4 separate regions of the Homo sapiens genome follow, and regions 2, 3 and 4 are each linked to region 1. Evidence: promoter capture Hi-C in 16 types of primary human blood cells and fetal thymus (Javierre and others, 2016). All regions are on one chromosome and are shown on one strand. The core of a region is centred on a gene start or on the middle of the fragment in contact, and the rest is flanking DNA. Distances in the headings are between cores, read along the strand shown.

Region 1 (3,998 bases), core at 1,044-3,543:
CCAGGATTCAATCCCAGTTAGTCTGGCACCAGAGTCTACATCTTAACCACCAAGCAGACTGTCTACACTGATGGAATCTCTAAAGAGGCAGACAAGGCTGGCTTCCATAAAGAGCAAGGGAAGAGGCCTTGGTCTGACCTGAGGAAGAGGAGGAGCAGGGGCAGGTCGGTTTATAGTTACAGTTGCTAGAAGTTGGTGGAAGCAAGGTCATATTTTAAGACTGAGGATGGCAAGAGTAGAGGCTGGAGGAGGGGATGGGGGAAAGATGAGGTTTGTGAGGGTGGTACTAAGGGTGCCACAGAGTCCTCCACAAACAGAAAGGAGGATGAAGTTGGGAAGGGGGCATTTGAGGAGCAGAGTAAGGGGGAAAGGAAGAAGGGACTGAGGAGTGGAAGGAGAAGGAGAAGGTCTATTTTTTTTTTTTTTGACAGAATCTCACTCTGTTGCCCAGGCTGGAATGCAGTGGCGCAATCTTGGCTCACTGCAACCTCCGCCTCCCAGTTTCAAGCGATTCTCCTGCCTCAGCCTCCTGAGTAGCTGGTATTATAGGTGCACACCACCACACCCAGCTAATTTTTGTATTTTTAGTAGAGACAGGGTTTCACCATGTTGACCAGGCTGCTCTCGAGCTCCTGACCTCAAGTCATCCACCCACCTCGGGCTCCCAAAGTGCTGGGATTACAGGCGTGAGCCACCGCACCTGGAACCTTTCTGTTTCATTCTCAGGAAGAATTGGGACCAGATTACATTCATCTATGGCCCTGGTGCTTGGCACATAAGAAGTTGTCAGTGAACATTTCCTGAGTGAATGAGTGCAGAATAATGAGAGTTAAGTGCTCTGGGTTTTGGATCTTGATCATCATGGATTTGCTTCCTGCCTGCCTCTAATTGTGTGACTTCACCTCACTGAGCCCCAGTTTCCTTATACAGTGGATCCTCCTTATTCACAGATTCCATACCTGTGAATTTGCCTGCTTACTGAAATTTATTTGTAATTCCCAAACCAGTACTTGTGGTACTTTTGCAGTCATTCATGGACATGAGCAGAAAGGCAAAAAATTTCAGCCGTCCAACACACGTATTTCCAGCTGAGGTCTGTTGAGCAAGAGGACTCTCTGTCTTCTTATTTCAGTTTTCATAGAGTAAACAAATGTGCTTTTTGGTGGTCTATTTAGTGACGCATATTCTCACATTTTTTGGTGTTTTTTGCTGGTGATTTTACTGTCTAAAATGGTCCCCAGTTGTAGTGCTGAAGTGCTCTCTAGTCTTTCTAAGTGCAAGAAGGCTGTGATGTGCCTTATAGGGGAAATATGTGCTTTAGATAAGTTTCATTCAGGCACAAGTTATAATGCTGTTGGCTGTGAGTTCAATGTCAATGACTCAAATATAGATAGATAGTTAGATAGATAGATAGATAGATAGATAGATATATTTTTTTTTTTTTTGAGACAGAGTTTCACTCTTGTTGCCCAGGCTGGAGTGCAATGGTGCAATCTGGGCTCACTGCAATCTCCACCTCCTGGGTTCAAGCTATTCTCCTGTCTCAGCCTCCTGAGTAGCTGGGACTACAGGCACCCACCACCACACCCAGCTAATTTTTGTATTTTTAGTAGAGATGGGGTTTTGCCATGTTAACCAGGCTAGTCTTGAACTCCTGACCTCAGGTGATCTGCCCACCTCGGCCTCCCAAAGTGCTGGGATTACAGGCTTGAGCCACCATGCCTGGCCAACAATATATATTAAATAAGGTGTCTCCACACATAAAATCAGGTTATATGTATAGATCAGTTGACAAAAATATTGTGACCAGAGGGTTTCAGGAACCTAACCTTGCATTTACCCTTTGTTCAGTATTTAGTGTTTGTGGCGACTTTATAGAACATTACTGGGAATAATGAGAATTGACTGTATATAAATAGGTATAATGATGGCATATCCTTGTAAAGTAGCTGAGATTAAATGAGATAACGTTGGTAAAGTGCTCAGCACAGTGTCTGGCACGTAGTAAGTGCTCAAAAAACATTGTTAATATTGTTACTATATGGATAAGTGAGAAAGTGAGGAAGTGAGTTCCGCCTCTAGGGCCTCTTTTCCCAAGGGGCCAAACTGAGGCTGTCTGGCTCTTGGGCTGGCTTTTAGGCCAGACCCAATAAAGAAGATTGTGAAGGAGCCTGACCCATGAGGAGGGGCCAGGGCCCACGACTTGTAATAAAGGGCCCTGCCCTTATGCAGACTTTGTATGTCATAGAGGCCTCAGCTACCCTGGCCAACAGCACCCCCCAGGCACACTGCAGAAGCTCCCTGTGCCCATGGGGCCATCTCGGCTTGTCCGTGGCCCTCGGCCCCAGGGCATGCGTTCCCCCTACCGCAGGCCAGGTATGGGCTGGCCCAGGCCCCGATTTCCCAGGATGTTCAAGTGTAGCCGCAGAAGATATCAACAGGGTCTCCGAGGTCGAACTGCCAGCAGTGCAGCCATCAATCCTGCCACCAGGGCCATGGGTATCAACAACACCCACACTGACACCACCATAGTGTGGATCTTCCCACCTCAAGGTTAGCCAGGGGGCCTGTGAGCCAGGGTGGGGTTTTAAAAAACAGAGCCACTAGGCTGGGTGCGGTGGCTCATGCCTGTAATCCCGGCACTTTGGGAGGCCAAGGCGGGCAGATCACAAGGTCAGGAGATCGAGACCATCCTGGCTAACACGGTGAAATCCCATCTCTACTAAAAATACAAAAAAAAATTAGCCGGGCGTGGTGGCACACGCCTTTAGTCCCAGCTACTTGGGAGGCTGAGGCAGGAGAATTGCTTGAACCCGGGAGGCAGAGGTTGCAGTGAGCCAAGATCGCGCCACTGCACTCCAGCCTGGGTGACAGAGCTAGACTCTGTCTCAAGAAAAAAAAAAAAAAACCAGAGCCAGTGAAGATTTCCCTACCTGGTTCTGTTTAGGCACGCCAAAGGATGATCTCTGTGAAATAGCACCCCTACATATATGGGGGACTCCTGATGGCAGGCACCCCAAAGTGCTGACAGCCTTAATGGAGGATGGATTGGCTGGAAGCAGAGGGTTTGGGGAGGGGCTGAATCCAAGAGGCAGGGAACTTCCAGAACTGCTTCCTTCCTCAAACTCTTCCCTCTCCTTCCTCTCCTCAGTTCTCAGACATCTCAGGCAACCTGGGATTTTTCTGATCCTCTAGAAGTGCCCAGAAGCTAGCCCAGAAGCTTGGTTTGCCCTGGACCTGCATCTCCTAGGGGCCGTGTGGGTGGTGAACAACAAATACAGTCATTCTGCTCAAACTGCCTTATTCCACACAGAGGTGTTAACCAGCTGACTATGCAGGGCGTGAGGGGAGGGTTATGGCTGAATACTTACAGGGAAAGGCTTCAGTGACCGCAGCAGGGATCATAGTTTAAGACAGCAGGAGGACAGGACAAGGTCAGCAACATAGACCATCTTTGGTCTCAGCTCTTGATCTGCCCCATGAAGTAGGGGCTCTCTTGCCTTACACTCCTAACTGCACAGGGAGAAGGGTCTCTGTAAACATCTTGGAAGGTATTGGGAGGCACAGATCAGAGAGGGATAGGATGAAAGACTGAACCCTGAGAGTACACAAGTATGAGGTGGATGTGAGGTGGATGTGCCTCTGTGTGCCTGTGATGGTCAGCGTGTAGGTGTAGCTGCTGGTGTGTGTGTCTGAGGCCGGGAGAATAGGAGTATCAGTAGATGTGGCTGAATGTGCCTTTGTGATTTAATGTGCCTCTGTGACTGACTGTGAGTGTCAAGGAGCGTTTGTGAGGGTATGGGTGTGCCGGAGAGGACATCAGCCCTGGTAAGAAAAGTGAAGGTCAGGAGGGGGATGGGGAACAGCCTAAAGGAGGAGAACATGGAGAAGGGTGAGATTCTGAGAAAGGCATACTACCTTCGGCCCTTCAACCATTCTCTGAGGTCAGTGTTTTCCAGAACTGGCAGCTGAGCTGGGGTGCTTAGGGGTGGGGCAAG
Region 2 (3,998 bases), core at 953-3,452, 250 kb after region 1:
AAGCAATTCTCCTGCCTCAGCCTCCCGAGTAGCTGGGATTACAGGTGCCCACCACCATGCCCAGCTAATTTTTTTTTTTTTTTTTTTGCATTTTTAGTAGAGACGGGTTTTCACCATGTCAGCCAGGCTGGTCTCAAACTCCTGACCTCAGATGACCTACCTGCCTTGGCTTCCCAAAGTGCTAGGATTAAAGGCGTGAGCCACCGTGCCCGGCCAGAGTTCTCACTTTCAAAGAAGGAAGTTACAAATATAAAAACAAAAACTAGAACCAAACTAGAATTAGAAGTGGAGGTATCAGTGTGAGCTTATAGTTTTCAATAACAGAAATTAAGAAATAAATACATGTGTGTTACATGTATACATTTCCCGGGAGCAGTGAACCTAAGTATGGGCAACCATGTCTACCATCAACATTTGCCCCCCCCAACCCCCCCGCTTTTTTTTTTTAAAGAGACAGGGTCTTGCTCTGTTGCCCAGGCTGGAGTACAGTGATGTGATCATAACTCACTGCAACCTTGAACTCCTGGGCTTAAATGATCCTCCTGAGTAGCTGGGACTACAGGCATGTGCCACCACACTTGGCCTTTTTTTTTTTTTTTTTTTTTTTTTAAAGAAATGGGGTCTCACTAAGTTGCTCAGGCTGGTCTTGAACTCCTCAGCCCCCTAAAGTGCTGGGATTATACCATGCCTGATTCATATTTTGGCTTTTAAAAAGCATTCTCCACTAAAAAGAACTATGCTGCCTAGAGAAAAAGCTCAAGGGCTAGTGAGGGTACAAAATAAGCCAGCCAGGAATATCTTCTCAGGGCAGAAAGTTACGTAGTTCTCAAAGAATGACAGAGACATCAAAAAGACACAAAAGTCAGCCTGAAGAAACTTCCCTTGACCAGATATGATACAATTTTGAGCATCAAAACTAAAATGGTATTAACAGATTATATAACCCATCAAATAAGACAAATCCACTAAATTTTTTTTGGAGTGGGGAGGGGGCAGTTGAAAGACAGAGTCTCACTCTGTCTCCCAGGCCAGAGTGCAGTGGTGCGATCTTGGCTCACTACAACCTCCGCCTCCTGGGTTCAAGCGATTCTCGTGCCTCAGCCTCCCATGTAGCTGGGATTACAGGCGTGAGCCACCACGCCTGGCTAGTTTTGCATTTTTAGTACAGACAGGGTTTCACCACGTTGGCCAGGCTGGTCTTGAACTCCTGACCTCAAGTGATCCACCCACCTCAAAGTGCTGGGATTACAGGTGTGAGCCACAGCGCCCAGTCAAAAGTCCACTGAATTTATACAGTATAATAAAGTAAGTGAAAAATGAATAGGGAGAGGTGAAAGCTTTTGCTATGGTGAAATGCCAACTGATGGGTATAGAAAGAATTATGAAATTGTAAAAATACCATTTGGTGACCAGCATAGTATAATAATGCAACCAGGAACATCAATGGATCCTAAAAACAGAGGGTTAAAATTTGATGAGGAATGGGGTACTTACATAATTTTAAGAACATTCCCATAAAATACTTATTAATTACAAAGGGAAAAAAAGAGTAACTTCACAGCAGCAAAACTTTACAGCAGCAAAACACCACGTTAATAAAGTGATCAAGGTTAACTTCATAGTAATGGGACAAAACGAAAGCCTGTATCACCTAACAGGACACAATGAGAAGAACACAACATTGCTGGGTGCAGTAGCTCACGCCTGTAATCCCAGCCCTTTGGGAGGCCGAGGCAGGAGGATTACCTGAACCCAGGAGTTCAAGACCAGCCTAGGCAACACAGCAAGACCCTGTCTCTAAAAAAATTTTTTAAAACTTAGCCAGGCATGGTAGTGTATGCCTGTATTTCCAGCTACTCTCCTCAAGAGGCTGGGGTGGGACTGGGCATGGTGGCTCACACCTGTAATCCCAGCACTTTGGGAGGCTGAGGTGGGCGGATCACCTGAGGTCAGGAGTTCGAGACTAGTTTCACCAATATGGTGAAGTCCTGTCTCTACTAAAAAAAAACACAAAAATTAGCCAGGTGTGGTGGCGGGCGCCTGTAGTCCCAGCTACTCAGGATGCTGAGACAGGAGAATCGCTTGAACCCGGGAGGTGGAGGTTGCAGTGAGCCCAGATCATGCCACTGCACTCCAGCCTGGGTGACAGAGCGAGACACTCTCAAAAAAACAAAAACAACAAAAGAGGCTGGGGTGGGAAGATCACTTGAGCCCAGGAGGTAGTGACTGTGCCACTGCATTCCAGCCTGGGCAACAGAGCAAGACTCTATCTCAAAAAAAAAAAAAAAAAAAAAACAGAACACAATACCACCTTTTTGTGATATTTCTGCCAAAGGTTCATAACCTGATTCTAATCCTGAGGAAATAACAGACAAATTCAAATTAAAGGACATCCTATCAAATAAACTGGTCTGTAATCTTCAAAAGTATTGAGGTTATAAAAGTTGAGGAAATAACTACAAAACTGCATCAGATTAAAGGAGATAGAAGACGAATAACAGTAAAATTCTAACACATGATCCTGGATCGGAGCCTTCTGTTACAAAGGATATTACTGGGACATTTGGTGAAATATGAATTAAACTTGTAGATTAGATGGTAATATTTATTAATGTTAATTTTCTGATTTTAATGGCTGTACTGTTATGAAAATGTCTCTGTAGGAAGTATACACTAAAGTGTTCAGGGCTGATGAGATAACATATCAGGAGCTAATTCAGTATGGGTTAGGACAAGGGCTGTCAAACTTTTTCTGTAAAGGCCAGATAATAAGTATTTTAGGCTTTGCAGGTCACATGTGGTCTCTGTCACATATTCCTTGTTTTTTGTAAATATCCCTTAAAAAATGTAAACTTCATTATTAGCTTGTGGCTTGTATAAACACAGCCCACAGGTCACATTTGGTTCATGGGGTTTATTTTGCTGACCCCTGGTTTGGGGGGTGAAAAGCTCTTTGAACTATTCTTGGAATTTTGACATTAAAAAAATATTTCTGCTAACATCCAGAGAAATCACTTGAAAAGTTCTGGGAATGACTGAATAGGGGTGAATAAGGCTGAAAGCTTATGAAATAAAAAGCATCCCTTTTACTCTACCCCGTGCTGCGAAGTGTTCTATTGCCTATGTGGGCATCTTCTCCTGCTCAGAGGGCCTAGTATGCAGTTGAATGTATGAATGAATGAATGAATGAATGCATCTATCTCAATTTCCCAGGACAGGAAACTGATTCCCTTCACATAAGATAAACAAAACAAAACAAAACAAAACAAAACAAAACAAAAAAAACAAAAAACAGGCCAGGCGCGGTGGCTCACATCTGTAATCCCAGCACTTTGGGAGGCCAAGGCGGGTAGATCATGAGGTCAGGAGTTCAAGATCAGCCTGGCCAAGATGGTGAAACCCCGTCTCTACTAAAAATACAAAAAAAATTAGCCAGGCGTGGTGGTGGGTGCCTGTAATCTCAGCTACTGGGGAGACTGAGGCAGAGAATTGCTTAAACCTGGAGGCGGAGGATGCAGTGAGCTGAGATCGCGCACTCCAGCCTGGGCGACAGAGAAATTCCATCCCCCCTCAAAACAAACTTCATCCTTTAGGAATATTTTAATATGACTTTTTACTTGGCTACATTGAGATACCATTTTTTAGCTCTCAGATTAGCAAAAATTCAAAAGCTTGACAATCATATTGTTGGCAAGGCTGTGTGCAAATAGACATTATCTTAAACTGCTGATGGAAATGTAAAATAGTATAACCATAGACTGTGAAGGGAAACTGGACAATATCTAATAAAACTACATATACATTTAATTTTTGACTCAGCTATCCCAGTTCTAGTAATTTATCCTGAAGATAGCCCTCCAAAAAAAAAAATCCATCTATTTACACACACATATGTATATATTAACAAACAAAGCCATGAAAATTAATTCTTCTGTGTCAAGGATCTATTATTGTAAATTAATCGTTTCTCTGACTACTCCAGTATGCTAGTTTCTTAA
Region 3 (3,998 bases), core at 832-3,331, 220 kb after region 1:
CTACAAACCACCTAAAATATGCACCAACAGATGAGTGACAAACAAATCACAGTATATCCATATAATGGAATTCTACTCAGCAATAACAAGGAATGAATAATTGATTCACACAATGGATGAATCTCACAAATAATTATGCTGAAAGCAAGATGCCAGACAAAAAAGAGTATGTTGTATGCTTTCATGGATGAGTTGAACAATTTGCCTCTCAGGTGTATTCAATCAAAAAATTTGTCCCTGGATATTTATACTAAAATATACTAAAAACAAAAGTCAAACATAATGTTACTTAACAGGAGACTGTTCTGACACATGCGCTAAAAGGGAATTGAAAACATTATTTCCAAGTCAATCATCCCACATAAATTCGACCAAATACGAGTCCAACACATTGTGACGAATTCCTCTCATGGTCTTGCACTTTGCTTTGCATTTATTTCAATAGCACTAGATGTTTTGGGTATGTATGCCAAGAGATGATATGAACTGTGCTCAACTAGGCACTGCAAAATAGGTGGCAAGGTTTGGGCAGAACAGTCACCAAAAATTTCCAAATAACCAATAGCTGGCTGATGGGTGTATCCACCATACCAAAAGCCCATTATTTCTCTCTCCAGAGCATGGCTATAGTGACACTTGATTTCGTGGCTAAAACAGGACTCACTGATTTGCAAGTAATGACCTAAACCACTAAGCTGTATCGGATGTAGTTCAAAGTAATGCTTGCATACTTTGTGACAGAAATTGTGGACACTGACCATAGTATGGACTGAAATTCCAGTAACAGCAGTAGTTGCTCTCTCTGTGACTTCCATAGACCATAACAAGGGAAGATGAAGCCACTTATTCAGGGAAATGCTGGATTTTGTGAAAAAATAATCCTTTCAAAGACAGACTCATGCTGATTGGCAATTGCAGTGAACAAATTTCCATGAATAGCTGTCTTTATTATACTGGCATTGTACCACCCACAGTAAGGGTTGGTGATATGAGGAACATTTAGGAGCCATAGATAACAAATTACACTCCTTCAAGAAGTCAATGATTGGCAGGTTTGAAGTGTTGACAATAGGTTGCAATGTATCTTGAAATAAACATCTATCCATTGGGAGAGGTGAAATAAAAATTTTCTCAAAAGTAGAACCACTAAAAAAATAAAATTTGAATTTGACCCACCACAATTAAGAAATTTCACTGGTGGGACTCACAAGGACAAATTGTTTAGTTGATCCAATTCCATTTATATAAAATTATAGAAAATGCTAACTAATCTATAGTGACAGACTGCAGATTAGTAGTTGCCCAATGAGAAGCAAGGAATGGATTATAGATAGTCATGAGGAAACTTCTGAGAGTTATAGATCTGTTCATTATCTTCATGTTCATTATCACAGTCATACAATCTATTATATTCCAATCATACCTCAATAAAACTATACAAAAATTTTAAAATGTAAGCAACATCATGTCCCTCTTCCATTTAAAATTCTCCTTGTCTCACTGAGAGAAAAAGCCAGTTCTGATGATGGCCTACAAGGCATTATATGGTCTGGATTCTCCATGACCTCTCTCCCTCCTGCTCACTCTCCAGCCACACCGGCCTCCTCGCCTTTCTTAGAAAATGCCAAGCGAGCCACCCATCTCAGGGCCTTTACAATTGGGATTTCCTTTGCCTATGTTTCTCCCAGGTTGCCTCAAGGCTTGCTCCCCTCTTCCTTCAGGTCTTTGCTCAAGTACAATCTTCTGGGTGAATTTTCCCCGATCATTCTATTTAAAATTGCAAACCCTCCCAAACTCTCTATCCCCCTTTCTTGATATATTTTTCTCCTAGCACTTATCATCATCTAACACACTACAGTCAGCATGTGGGTTCCACATCCATGGATTCAACCAACTATGGGTGGAAAATATTTTTTAAAACTTTTAAAATAATATAAATTTTAAAAATATAGTATAACAGCTATTTGCAGGGATTTGCTTTGTATTAGATATTATAAATAATCTAGAGATGATTTAAAGTATACAGGAAGATGTGTATAGGTTATATGCGAATATTATGTATGCTCTTTTATATAAGAGACTTGGGCATCTGCAGATTTTGGTATCCGTGTGGGTCCTGGAACTAATCCCCAATATATATATGATGGTATATATTTTGCACATTCATTTTGTTGTCTCTCTTCTCATCAGAAATTAAACTGTATGAGGGCAGGGGCTTTTGTATGCTTTGTGTACTGCTGCACTCCTCAATACCTAGAACGCTGCCTGGCACACAGTAGGCTCTCAATAAGTATTTGTTAAATGAATGGATGAGTATGATTTGTTACAAGGATTAAAATAAAGAAGATACATGTATACCTGGCCTATGAAAGGTAAATCAAACTGTTATATCTAAATCCTTGTGTCTGAAAGTGAAAATGTCTTGAAACTTCAGGGACGGATAATTAATTCCAGCTTCATTTGCCTTAACCTTATTTAAAATTTAAAATAAAAGCCAAAACACTAAAGATCGTATTTCCAGGCCACATGCCTTTTTATAAAGGTACACATAATCTCACTTGGCAAATCTTTAACAGCTGCCAGGGGAAAAAAAGGTCAGACACTCTGCTACAGATACCATGACTCAGCTGAGATCCACAACAAGGAACTGGCTAATTTTTCCATTTCAACAGGCTCTGGCCATTTCCCCAGGATCCTAAGAAGATAAAGGGCAAGTCTTAATTCTTTCATTCCAGTAAGATGAAGTACTGGATATCTGCAGAGTTGGGTACACTAACTCTCAGCGGACGGGTGGTAGCCTGGAAGCCCCCGGAGCTACCTCATGCAAAGACTGGTGTTAAATCATCCCAGTCACTTGGCTACTTGGAGTGAGACTTGGCATTTCAATTTCTTACATACCTCGCCATGGTCATCTCAGTCAACAGCAAGAACAAGGGCTAAGGCATATCGTGCATTCTCTGTGACAATGTTGAATTGTAACCACATTTGGAGAGTAGTAGATCGTTTCTAGCCTTCAAAAACCCCTCCCTCCAGCAACTAGCAGGCACTCGGAAAATCTGACCCCTGCAAGAGCTGCTGTAAATTTACTTAGGAAGCCTGCTTCCCACTGTGAAGCAACAAAGGGTATGGAATAAGATGTCTGGTTGCAGATCCCTTAGGTCTCTCCAGTCTCCAAATCTCAGAGGTCTAGCTGCTCCTAGGAACTTGAGCACTCCGTGACTGGATAGTACTTGGCAGGCACCTTTTAGAATTTAGAATGAGGAAAAGATCACTTCTGTTTCAGTAAGTGTAAACAATATAAAGAAGAATGTGGAGCTGGTTACAGTCAAGCACTTCCAGATGCTATAATATTTCAGAGTAACAACCAAGATGTCCTGGTTAAGATGGGGAAGTGAGAGTGGGAAAAAAATACATATTCCCTCCCCAATAAAGGGAGATATTATTACGTATCCATTATATTATTATTGATATATTATTTATTGCTTACCTGGATTTCAATACCCTCCTAACTAGTCTCTCTGGTTTACTCTTGTCTTCTACCCTAATCTGTTCTTAATATGAGCAAGCCACAGTGATTCTTTTAAAGCACACATCTGATTATTTCATTCCTCTGCTCAAAACCTTCCACAGGCTGCTAATTTTGCACAGGCACTTCTAGCTACTAGGACCAGCGTTAACTGTTCCCTTTACTTGCAATGTCCTTCCTTCAACTACACAATGGCAAAATCCCTCACTCCTTCAAGGCTTTATTCTAATGTCACCTTCCCAATTTTCTGTTTTCCTGAATCCCCTTTGGTCTACCTTTTTTCCCAATAGCATTTGTCATCTTCTAACATACTACATAAACTATGTTTACTGTCTGTTTCTTCTTTTCTAGAGTGAGCTCTAAGAGGTATCCCAATCACCTAGAAATAGTACACAGGGCATAGGAGGTTTTCGACAAGTGTTTATTGAACAAATGAATGTATTTCCACAGAAGCAGGTAGTCAGAATTCCCC
Region 4 (3,998 bases), core at 434-2,933, 180 kb after region 1:
AGCGTTGCTGCCATGGGCCAGAGACAGGTTTGTTATCACTCTCAAGAGGGAAGAAACATGGGAGGAGGACTGTAAGCATGGCTCTGTATGCACCAAATCTTTCTAAATTCATAGAAGGAAAAGTGAAGTCCCTGTAGTGTCTTTATCCCCCAAACGAACTCCAGCTCAAAGTCAAGGAGAGAGGCACAAAGAGCCCTTTCAGCTGCTTTAAACTAGCTGAGTTAGAGAGGACAAAGAGTATAACTTTGGGTCCTCCTGGAGGAGAGCTTATTTTCTCATTCATCACTGTAGGACAGTTCTAAATTGAGAGTATAATGCTTTGGAACATACCCGTAGGACATCAGGGACTTAAAAAAAAAAGTGAATTATACAAATAAATCTACTTTTACTTAATATCTACTCTCCTGTTTAAACATTCAAACACAAATACATGGGGCACCTATAAAGCAAAACCAGAACACGATCATTACAACCTAGGAGAGGAAAGCAAAGACAGAGTTTTGATGGATGGGAGCTTCAGGTAATACACTTGAAAGAGTAGTGACACTTAAAGGAGGAATCTGACATTCAATTAACCCTCATGCAAGTGCCACATGTGCTGGTCCCAGAGGAGGTTTCCTATCAACTTACCTACGGGCAGGAACAAAAGAAAAGTGAGCAGGTGCATTTGGAGAGAAATTCCGGGGGCTGTCCAAAGGACTGTTACCTGTGGATGGGAAAAGAAACAAAACTCTGTGAGGTTTGCTTGTGAGGAGGGTGGACATGACTTTCGGGCAAGAAATATTCCCCTAGCACTGGCAATTATATGGTTATTTTCTCAGGGCCACTATCAGTTTAATGAGTCTCTTTCTGTAAAAGTTTCATAGCCCAGAGGTTTTCTCCCTTGTTCCCAAGTTTGCTGTAACAACCCATGTCTCTCAGATAACCATTCTAGATCTAGCAGCAACTTGACTATTTCCTGCCCTCCTAGGAACACACCTGAGACTTCAATCTGTCTTTGTCAAGTGAACCAACATTCAGAAGGCTTAAAGAGCTCATTCAGTCAGAGGGTATAGCCAAATGTTCACACTTTCTCAAAGGGCAACAGGACCCCTAATCCAAAAGTTTCTTGCATATATATCTCTGCGCACTGTATCCAAGGGCTAAACCAGGAACATGTGTGTTTTAAGGGGAAAGAGAAGTTCTCAGGTAGGGACTCAGGATAGTAGTAAACCTTAAGATAGTTCGTAATCAAGGCCCCCAAGTCTACAAAGCATACCGCCATTTCTTAATTAGTATTCACGTGTTCCCTGTAACTTGCTAACTTAAAGCTCAGAAGCTTTGAACAAAACTGTAAGTTTACCTTTGCATTAATCCCAATGGTTCTTAAACCTAAGCCTGCCATACTTCTCTGGGCTATCTTCCAGCTGGGGACTGGTACGTAGGAGCCCCTTGTTGGCAGTTGTTAATATGACTCTACTCAAAAGGCCATGTTGAAGTAAGCACCATACTCCATGCTGTGCTGGCTCCCCTCTAACCCCTGTCCACCTCCTCACTTCTGTGCTTACCTCCCAGGGGCCTGGTACTTCAACATGCGCTGGCTTTCTCTTGGATAGTATGTTTCCTGCACAGTGTATGGATGTTCCAAGTTGCCAAAAACCTACCCCTTTGTTTCCCACTATCTCTATCCAATAGGGCTTATATAGCACTTAACGTCTTTTTATACTGATCTAGTAGAAACCAGCCTCTCAATCAGTGCTCCTACTACCCTATGCAGCAGCACCTCTGTATCAATTATATAATGGCATTGTTTTTGGTTGAAATAATAAGAGGCATTTTCAGTTCTTCTCACCCCCAGGTGCATAAAATATACAACTTCATCCAGTGGATCTGCTCTCAACATTGCATGAACTCTGGGTTTTCCATGCTCTGTGTCAGGGATATCTGTTATGACCTCTCCCCATCTTCTGGCTAGTGGGCACCAGGATATAAGGGAAGTGATCCTGAGTAGCTGTTTCCTTAGCCAGGACTTAATAAGGATCAGGCCTCCTCAGAAGTATCAAAGCTTATTTTTTTAAAAAAAATTCTGTTCTTTTTTGATAGTGTCATCTCATGTCAAAGATTAACAAATACCCACAGTTTGATTCTTGACATGCAAAGTCAGATGCCCTTTGTTGGTTCCCAAAACTACCCAGCTAAAGCCTCAAGGAGATGCCTGGACATGAGCATCCTACAATGACCAGCCTTCCAAGGATCGGTCTGGTTACAGAGGTACAAAGAATCTTCCAGGTGCGCATAGTACAGCTAGGGTTACATAACACACACGTATGTCAGAAATAGCTAACACCGAGAGGGGAAAAAAAAGCAGCAAAAAAACTAAATAAACAGCACCACTGAGCTGTAGGACAACTTCAAGCAGGGGGAGGGGAGAGCAGGGGATACAGAAAAAAGATAGGAAGAAATAATGGCGGACCATTTTGCAAATTTGATAAAAACCATATACCCACATGTTGTGTGATGGGTCCTTTACCAGATTACTTAAAGGTACATATGTTCACTGCCTGAAACCTGAAGGCTAGGCCCATGGCAATGGTACCCAGCTGAGGAGCAGGTATCCCTGAGAACCAACCAAACATCCCAGAGAGTATCTGAGAATCTCTCAAGAAAAACAGTATCATTGTTCAAACACAGTAGGCAAAGATCCAGAAAATTAGCTTAAAAGCAGTTTAGAGGGAGCCGGGTACAGTGGCTCACGCCTGTCATGCCAGTTTGGGAGGCTGAGGAGGGCGATCACTTGAGTCCAGGAGTCTGAGACCAGCCTAAGCAACATGGCAAAACACCCCATGTCTAAAAACAAACAAACAAAAAATGCGGTTTAGAGACAGGAGGCAGCGTGGATCTCTAGAGCTGTCCTGCTGCCGTCCAGGAGTGCCTTGTATGTAAGTTGAATAAACTCGTCTACTCATCAAGTTAAATTTGTCTGAGTCATTCTTTGGTCTCATGGCTCCTTCCCAGTTTAGATGGGACGTTGCAGTCCCAAGTTTTTCTTGTAACATCACAAATCTAAGAATCTCTAAGAATCCCAAACATGAGAAAGAAGAAGAGAAGTACATCAAAGAATACCCAGTCAAATCGCTCAAAACTCAAGATACAGAGAAAAATCTTTAGAGTGGCTAGAGCTTGGTGGAGCTCAGTAAAGTGAGAAGAAGATATGTTATACAGAGGAACAAAGACAAGGATTATAGCAGATTTCTCGTTGGAAACAATGCAAGAAGACAGCAGAGCAATATATTTAAATTATGGAAGATATGGGCCAGGCGTGGTGGCTCACGCCCGTAATCCCAGCACTTTGGGAGGCTGAGGTGGGCGGATCACGAGGCCAGGAGATCGAGACCATCCTGGTTAACACAATGAAACCCTGTCTCTACTAAAAAATACAAAAAAATTAGCCGGGCGTGGTGGCGGGCGCCTGTAGTCCCAGATATTCGGAAGGCTGAGGCAGGAGAATGGCGTGAACCCAGGAGGTGGAGCTTGCAGTGAGCCGAGACAGTGCCACTGTACTCCAGCCTGGGTGACAAAGCGAGACTCTGTCTCAAAAAAAAAAAAAAAATTATGGAAGATATGGCTATTCTCCTGCCAACCTAGAATTCTAGACCCAGCTGTTGTGTAGTAAAGAATTTGACTGGCCTTAGTACCCAGTTCCTGGGAAGGAGCCTGTAAATCCTTGGAATTTCCCAAGTGATAGGAGTGCTTTTGTTATTTATGACAGGGCCTGATACTTTACGCTAATGATATAACTCAGGATGGGGACTGGCCACACCTGAAAGACCAACCATGTAATTGGAGGGTTGGGGCTTTGAGGCTCACCTAGCACCAGGGAGTGCTAGCACTCACCTAGCACTTTGGGAGGCCGAGGCAGGCAGATCGCCTGAGGTTAGGGGTTCAAGGCCAGCCTGGCCAACGTGGCAAAATCCCGTCTCTACTAAAAATACAAAAATTAACCGGCTGTGCTGGCACAT

Evidence for each region. Contacts are between HindIII fragments. The CHiCAGO score rates a contact against its expected background, and 5 or more counts as called.
Region 2: a fragment that was not itself captured here is called in contact with the fragment with the promoter of P3R3URF in region 1 in 2 of 17 cell types (M2 macrophages and M0 macrophages); the score reaches 5.6 in M2 macrophages.
Region 3: a contact is called between a fragment that was not itself captured here and the fragment with the promoter of P3R3URF in region 1, in 2 of 17 cell types (M1 macrophages and M0 macrophages). The highest score is 5.5, in M1 macrophages.
Region 4: a fragment that was not itself captured here is called in contact with the fragment with the promoter of P3R3URF in region 1 in 1 of 17 cell types (M0 macrophages); the score reaches 5.3 in M0 macrophages.

Annotation. Positions count from the first base shown.
Region 1 is chr1:46,174,783-46,178,780 of GRCh38, reverse strand. It overlaps P3R3URF (PIK3R3 upstream open reading frame), which reads left to right and starts at 2,293. Exons shown (of 2, transcript NM_001328655.2): 1 at 2,293-2,553; 2 at 3,152-3,295. The coding sequence starts at 2,310. The coding sequence ends at 3,195. P3R3URF-PIK3R3 (P3R3URF-PIK3R3 readthrough) reads left to right here and starts at 2,293. Exons shown (of 10, transcript NM_001303427.2): 1 at 2,293-2,553. The coding sequence starts at 2,310. It overlaps TSPAN1 (tetraspanin 1), which reads right to left and starts at 3,694. Exons shown (of 9, transcript NM_005727.4): 1 at 3,372-3,694. It also overlaps a transcript of PIK3R3 not described here. The HindIII fragment of the contact is 5,416 bases long and covers 1-3,222 here.
Region 2 is chr1:45,929,675-45,933,672 of GRCh38, reverse strand. All of the region lies in intron 4 of MAST2 (microtubule associated serine/threonine kinase 2), which reads right to left. Among named protein-coding and RNA genes, the nearest start is that of MAST2, 130 kb to the right of the region's middle. The HindIII fragment of the contact is 1,725 bases long and covers 1,340-3,064 here.
Region 3 is chr1:45,953,339-45,957,336 of GRCh38, reverse strand. All of the region lies in intron 4 of MAST2 (microtubule associated serine/threonine kinase 2), which reads right to left. Among named protein-coding and RNA genes, the nearest start is that of MAST2, 150 kb to the right of the region's middle. The HindIII fragment of the contact is 5,257 bases long and covers 1-3,998 here.
Region 4 is chr1:45,994,432-45,998,429 of GRCh38, reverse strand. MAST2 (microtubule associated serine/threonine kinase 2) reads right to left here. Exons shown (of 29, transcript NM_015112.3): 6 at 631-706. Among named protein-coding and RNA genes, the nearest start is that of PIK3R3, 140 kb to the left of the region's middle. The HindIII fragment of the contact is 726 bases long and covers 1,321-2,046 here.